Regions from separate parts of the Homo sapiens genome. Here region 1 is linked to region 2. The links are contacts of gene promoters, found by promoter capture Hi-C in blood cells and fetal thymus (Javierre and others, 2016). All regions are on one chromosome and are shown on one strand. The core of a region is centred on a gene start or on the middle of the fragment in contact, and the rest is flanking DNA. Distances in the headings are between cores, read along the strand shown. Region 1 overlaps AP2S1 (adaptor related protein complex 2 subunit sigma 1). Region 2 holds the start of CCDC9 (coiled-coil domain containing 9).

Region 1 (3,370 bases), core at 637-3,136, 410 kb before region 2:
GGCTAGAGTGCAGTGGCGCGATCCCGCCTCACTGCAACCTCCACCTCCTGGGTGCAGGCCTCCCAGGTAGCTGGGACCGCAGGTGCACACCACCACGCCCAGCTAACTTTTTGTATTTTTAGTAGAGACAGTGTTTCACCATGTTGTCCAGGCTGGTCTCGAACTCCTGGCCTCAAGCGATCCACCCACCTCATCCCCCCAAAGTGCTGCATCAGGCGTGAGCCACTGCACCCCACCTAATATCACCACTATCTAATTTATTATCTAATACCAGAACATTTTCATCATCTCCCCCCAAAAAACTCCCCACCCATTAGCAGTCACTCTCCGTTCCCCCAGGGCCTGGCAGCCACGAGTCTCCTTTCTGTCTCTGTGGATGTGTCTGTTCTGGACATTGTATATGAGTGGAATCATGCACTCTGTGGCTTTCGTGTCTGGCTTCCTTCACTCAGCGTGACGTTTTCCAGGCTCATCTGTGGGGTGGCAAGCGGCAGAGCTGCAATTCCTTTCCGTGGCTGAGTGATCCTCTGTTGGATGGATAAGGCCGTACTTCGGGCATTTGGGTTGTTTCTGCTTTAGGGCTATTATGAATAATACTGCTATGAACATTCGTGTATGAGTTTTCGTGTGGATGGATCATTTCTCTTGGGTATATACCTAAGAGTGAGATTGCTGGCTCATAGGGTAACGCTATGTTTAACTTTCTCAGGAATTGCTAAACCGTTTTCCAAAGCGTCTGCCACTTTCATGACTTAACTTTGGTGCCACTTTGGTGCCTGAGTTTACTGTGAGGAGTAAAGGATATTCCTGGCCGGTCACGGTGGCTCACACCTGTAATCCCAGCACTTTGGGAGGCCAAGGCGGGCAGATCACTTGAGGTCAGGAGTTCGAGACCAGTTTGGCCAACATGGTGAAACCCCATCTGTACTAAAAATACAAAAATTAGCCAGGTGTGATGGGGGGCAGGGGGGAGGCGGCTATAATCCCAGCTACTCGGGAGGCTGAGGCATGAGAATCACTTGAACCCAGGAGGCAGAGGTTGCAGTGAGCTGACATTGCACCATTGCTCTCCAGCCTGGGTGACAGAGCGAGACGCTGTCTCAAAAAAACAAAAACAAAAACATAGAGGTATAGTACAGTGACTGGCACGTACTAAGTGTTACATAAGAACCAGCTCTTAGCAGCATTATATTTTCCATTATGTGATGTTCAGAAAACCATGGCCAAAGCTTACTCCATTAGAAGTTCTGGGCCCATTTCTGTCTGAGACAGGCATGCTCATGCCCATTTTATAGATGAGGAAACTGAGATTTAGGGAAAGGAAGTCTCACAGCCAGAAAGCAGAGGTGGGAGTCCAAAGGCTTTGCTCTGAACCACCTGACCCCAACTTGTGGGAGCCTTCTCTCTTAGGAAAGAGAGCCCTCTAGTCCTGTCTTTTTCTTTTCTTTTTTGTTTTCAGACAGTCTCACTCTGTTGCCTAGGCTGGAGTGCAGTGGCACTGTCTCGGTTCACTGCAACCTCTACCTCCAGGTTCAAGCGATTCTCCTGCCTCAGCCTCCTAAGTACCTGGGATTACAGGCGCATGCCACCATGCCCGGCTAATTTTTGTATTTTTAGTAGAGACAGGGTTTCACCATGTTGGTCAGGCTGGTCTCGAACTCCTGACCTTGTGATCTGCCTGCCTCAGCCTCCCAAAGTGCTGGGGTTACAGGCGCGAGTCACTGTGCCCAGCCTTTTTTTTTTTTTTTTTTTTGAGACAGAGTCTCACTCTGTCGCCTAGGCCAGTGGCACAATCTCGGCTCACTGCAGCCTCTGCCTCCCGGGTTCAAGCGATTCTCCTGCCTCAGCCTCCCAAGTAGCTGGGATTACAGGCATCCACCACCACACCTGGCTTATTTTTGTATTTTTAGTAGAGACGGGGTCTCACCACGTTGGCCAGGCTGGTCTCGAACTCCTGACCTTATGTGATCCGCCTGCCTCAGCCTCCCAAAGTGCTGGGATTACAGGCATGAGTCACCGCCCCAGCCTGAGAGTCTTTCCTAAGCCTCATTCTCCACACACTCTATCCTCCCTCCCCCAACCAACCAAACTGGACCGGAACAGGATGTTACACTCTCCTTCCAAGAACTCCTGCTGAGCCAGGGAAAACCACTTCCTAGCAGGGCAGGGGTCCCAGGCAGGAAGGGACGTTGGGGGGCCTACACCAGGCAGCCACAGCCTGGGAGCAGAGCCGGAGACATATTCACACAGTTAGGAGAACTAGAAGCAAACCCACAGAGTTGACAAAAAGCTCTGCCTCTTACTCCCAAATTCCCTTGTATACCTCTCCCTGTTTTCTTCCCATTTGGAATCTCAAGTCCCCTCCGTCCTGAATCTCTGCATCCTCACGCCTCTGCTGTCCCCTCTAGATGCCCCCCAACCTTCCCTGTCTCCAATCCCCCTCCTCTGGAGTTGTTCCCTTTTGACCTCCACTTTCTCAGTCTCAGTTCCCCTCCTTGGGGCCTCAATGGGCTTTTTACTGGTGACATCCCTTGTCCCACTCCCAAGCTTCCTCCCTTCTTCAAAAGGTCACATTTTGCCTCCAAGGACCCTGTTCCTGGAGGAGACTCCGCCCCCGCTCTGACACTCTTTCTCATTCGTTTTCTTTCCCAACTTCCAGCCCAAAGAACCCTTTCCTAGATCCAAAGCCCCAACCTGGGGGATAGGGGCACTCCTAAATCCAATGTTGAGTCTTTGCCCCAACAAAGATTCCTCCCCAGGTCTCACACTTTCAAGCCTACTCCCCACCCCACAAGATCTCTCCTCTTGGAAAGACCTATTCAGTTGCTCCCCATTCTTTCCGAGTGTCCATCTTACCTCCAGGTCCTCTCTCCTTTTACAGCGCTTTCCCAGACCCTTAAGTTTCATTCCCTACAGTTGCCTCCTTTTGGTTTCCTGTGCCAGGTCTCTTCTTGAGATCATCCCTCTCTCACAGGCAGTCTCCTGCCCCTGTCTCAACATCCCCTCTCCACCTGCAATCAGATCCTTGTCTCTAGAGACTCCTCCCATCAAGAAAACCTCCCTCCCCTTTTCCAAGGTCTCGCGTTCTCGTCCCAGCGCTCCCGCCACACTTCCAGAGCGCCTTCCTCTTTCGGACGCCCTCTCCCCACCTCCAATGCCTTCTCGCTACCCACAAGACTGTGTCTCACGAGTTTCCTCTCGTTTCAAAGCTTCCAACCATCTACAACGTTTCCCACCTGCACAGCCCTTTCCCCTTGGAACACCACCCCCAATGCCCGTCGCCGCGAGACCCCTGGTAACCCCCGCGCGCAGAATCACCGCCCTGTGCCCTCCTTCCCGGCCCTGGATCGGTCCCAATCCCCAGAGCCCG
Region 2 (3,708 bases), core at 1,199-3,698:
GTAACCTCCTGGACTCTGCAGCTATTCAGCTGCTGTTGCTTTGAGTATCTTCTAGTTTTGGGAATGCACCAAGCTCATTCACCACAGGGCCTTTGCATAGGTTGTGTCCTTGGCCTGCACAGGCAGCCTCTCACCCTCCGGCCTCTCCTGCCCCTCTTGCCAGGCATCTCCCACAGGTGCTGCTATTTCCCATTTACTTGTGTCTTCCCTTAGGAGGACAAGGATGGGGTCAGCTTTGTTCATCATCTCAGTTCCCCCACCAACTTTTCCTCCCAGCACGCAGCCTGGCAGTCAATGCTGATTTGGGAGAATGAACGACTGATTCTATCGGTTGAACGTTTATTTTATATATATATATATATATATATATATATATATATATATATATATATACTTTTTTTTTTTTTTTTTTTTTGAGACGGAGTCTCGCTCTGTCGCCCAGGCTGGAGTGCAGTGGCGTGATCTCGGCTCACTGCAAGCTCCGCCTCCCGGGTTCACGCCATTCTCCTGCCTCAGCCTCCCAAGTAGCTGGGACTACAGGCGCCCGCCACTACGCCCGGCTAATTTTTTGTATTTTTAGTAGAGACGGGGTTTCACCGTTTTAGCCGGGATGGTCTCGATCTCCTGACCTCGTGATCCGCCCGCCTCGGCCTCCCAAAGTGCTGGGATTACAGGCGTGAGCCACCGCGCCCGGCCTTATTTTATATTTTATGATTTCATTTACTTATTTATTTTCGATACGGAGTCTCACTTTGTCGCCCAGGCTGGAGTGCAGTGGCACGATCTTGCCTCACTGCAACCTCTGCCTCCCGGGTTCAAGCAATTCTCTATCTCAGCCTCCCAAGTAGCTGGGATTACAGGCATCTGCCACCATGCTTGGCTAAATTTTGTATTTTTAGTAAAGACGGGGTTTCACCATGTTAGCCAGGCTGGTCTCGAACTCCTGACCTTGTGATCCACCTGCCTCGGCCTCCCAAAGTGCTGGGATTACAGGCATGAGCCACTGCGCCTGGCCAGTTATTTATTTTTTTGAGACGTAGTCTTGCTCTGTCGCCCAGGCTGGAGTGCAATGGCACGATCTCAGCTCACTGCAACCTCTGCCTCCCGGGTTTAAGCGATTCTCCTGCTTCAGCCTGTAGCTGGGATTACAGGTGTTACAGGTGCCCGCCACCATGCCTGGCTAATTTTTGTATTTTTTAGTAGAGACAGGGTTTCACCACGTTGGTCAGGCTGGTCTCAAACTCCTGACCTCGGGTGATCCACCCGCCTCGGACTCCCAAAGTGCTGGGATTACAGGCGTGAGCCACGGCGCCCGGCCTATTTTATTTTGAGACGGAGTCTCTCGTTCTGTCGCCCAGGCTGCAGTGCAGTGGTGCAATCTCGGCTTACTGCAACCTCTGCCTCCCGGGTTCAAGCGATGCTCCTGCCTCAGCCTCCCAAGTAGCTGGGATTACAGGCGCCCGCCACCATGCCTGGCTAATTTTTGTATATGTATATTTTTTGAGACGGAGTCTCCCTGTGTCGCCCAGGCTAGAGTGCAGTGGAGCGATCTCGGCTCACTGCAAGCTCCGCCCCCGGGGTTCACGCCATTCTCCTGGCTCAGTCTCCGGAGTAGCTCGGACTACAGGCGCCCGCCACCACGCCGGGCTGATTTTTTTTGTATTTTTAGTAGAGACGGGGTTTCACCATGTTGGCAAGGATGGTCTCGAATTCCTGGCCTCAAGTGATCCGCCCTCCTCGGCCTCCCAAAGTGCTGGGATTACAAGCGTGAGCCACTGCGCCCAGCATTTTATTTTATTTTCGAGAAGGGGTCTGCTCTGTCGTCTAGGCTGCAGTGCGGTGGCATGATCTCGGCTCACTGCAACCTCTGCCTCCCCGGTTCAAGCGATTCTCCTGCTTCAGCCTCCCGAGTTGCTGGGATTACAGGCGCGCGCCACCACAACCGGCTAATTTTTTTTGTAGAGACGGGATTTCACAATGTTGGCCAGACTGATCTCGAACTTCTGACCTCAGGTGATCCGCCCGCCTCGGCCTCCCAAGGTGCTGGGATTACAAGTGTGAGCCACCGCCCACGGCCGGTAGAACATCTGAAGCTTCTAAAGCGAACTCTAAGGTTTCATTGGCACGAGGGGGCTCGAACCACGCCAGGCTTCCAGGCGTCAGTGCCCAGTGCTTGGCATCTACTGATAGAAACCAGGAATGAGGGGCTGGAGGCGGAAACAGCTTGAAGAAAGAGGTAGAGGCCAGGGAGTGAGGACGGTGTCTCCTTTTCCTGGAAGTTGGTAATTCAGGCAGAAGGAAGTTGGATGAGCTTGCGGAACACCCGGGGGGCCAGTCGGCCCCGCTCCCGCATCCATCGCGGAGGCGCGGCCCCTTTAAGGCTCCCGGAAACGGTCCCACAGGACCGGAAGTGACCCTCTTTATTTCCCTTCCTCACGTGGTGCAGGCAGGAAGTGACGCGCCTGGCCCGGGAGCTGCGGTCGCAGAGGCCGACGGAGCCGGAGTCGCGGACGCCGCGGGGTCTCCGGGACAGGTGACCTGGGGGAGGGGGCCGGGAGCGCGCCCAGAGAAGGCGGGGCCTGAAGCCCCACGTGGCGGGGAGTGCGAACAGGCCCGGGCGGGGTCGGAGTTCTCTGCGGGGGGCGGGGACAGGACGCCCACATGGGAAGCTGGAGGGGCGCTGGCGGGGCGGGCCGTTGGGTGGGTGGGCAGGGTCGGGGCGGGGCGTGGCCAGAGCCTGGGCCGGCGGCTGTGGGCGGGACCTAAAAGTTGTGGCTGGACTGTGGGCGGGGCCATAGTGTTGCTTGTTCAGCTGTGTGGCGGGGCTCGGACGCCGGGCGGAAGCTCTGTGGGCGGGGCCAGAAAGTTTTGCCTTACTGGAAGTGGGTCCAGATTCTTGGCCGGGACGTTGGGGGCGGACCCAGAGGCTGACGCAATGGCGGGGGCGGGGCCACAATGTAGTGGGGGAGCCAGGGGGCGGGGCCAGGGTGCTGGCGGGGAATGCTGGGGGTGGAGCCAGAAAGTTTCGTCTGAGCCACGGGCGCGGCCAGAGCGTTGGCCGGGAGGCGGGGAAGCGGGGAGTTGAGCCAGAACCCTGGGGAAGCCATGGGCGGGGCCAGATGCTGACGCAACGAGGTGTGGGAGGGAGTCAGGGGGCGTGTCCAGGAGGTTGGCCAGGCCAATCGGAGGCGGGGCCAGAGGGTTGACTGGGCAGGCCGGGGGCGGGGCTGGAATAATAATAAGAGATGGTAGGGGCGGGTGTAGGCTGTTGCCTGCGAGCCAGGAGGCGGGGAAAGAGCGTGGCTGGGAAAGTCGGGAGCGGGGCCACATTAATGGCCCATGGGTGGGGGCGGGGCCAGAAGTCTGGCGGGAAAGGCGGGGCCAGAAAGTTTTTTCCCGAGCCGTGGGCGGGGCCAGAGCGGTTTCCAGGATGTCGGGGACGTGGCCCTGGCATTCCCAGCCGGATTGAGGCTGGAGCTTTGCACAGAAAATCTGGGGCGGGCCTGGGTAGTTTTGTCCTTGTTGGGGCGGGTGGAGTATTCAGTGGGGCAAAACGCCAGTTCCAGGAAGCCTCGCCAGTGAGTTCTGGGCCTGTGTACAGAATCCTTTCGGGGGAGGCGGGAGGCTGTCGACCTTCCGTAGGGCGCTGGAGACGGGACTAGGACGTCCCTGAGGAAGGCGCGGGCTTGGAATGTTCTCTGAGAGCTT

The links. The method cuts DNA at HindIII sites, captures the fragments that hold promoters and counts their contacts. A CHiCAGO score of 5 or more calls a contact.
Region 1: a contact is called between a fragment that was not itself captured here and the fragment with the promoter of CCDC9 in region 2, in 1 of 17 cell types (naive B cells). The highest score is 5.3, in naive B cells.

What each region holds. Positions count from the first base shown.
Region 1 is chr19:46,847,278-46,850,647 of GRCh38, forward strand. All of the region lies in intron 1 of AP2S1 (adaptor related protein complex 2 subunit sigma 1), which reads right to left. Among named protein-coding and RNA genes, the nearest start is that of AP2S1, 1.9 kb to the right of the region's middle. The HindIII fragment of the contact is 1,318 bases long and covers 1,228-2,545 here.
Region 2 is chr19:47,254,077-47,257,784 of GRCh38, forward strand. It overlaps CCDC9 (coiled-coil domain containing 9), which reads left to right and starts at 2,449. Exons shown (of 12, transcript NM_015603.3): 1 at 2,449-2,533. RefSeq lists an enhancer at 1,798-2,707 and silencers at 2,598-2,707, 2,918-3,157, 3,198-3,247. The HindIII fragment of the contact is 17,839 bases long and covers 2,092-3,708 here.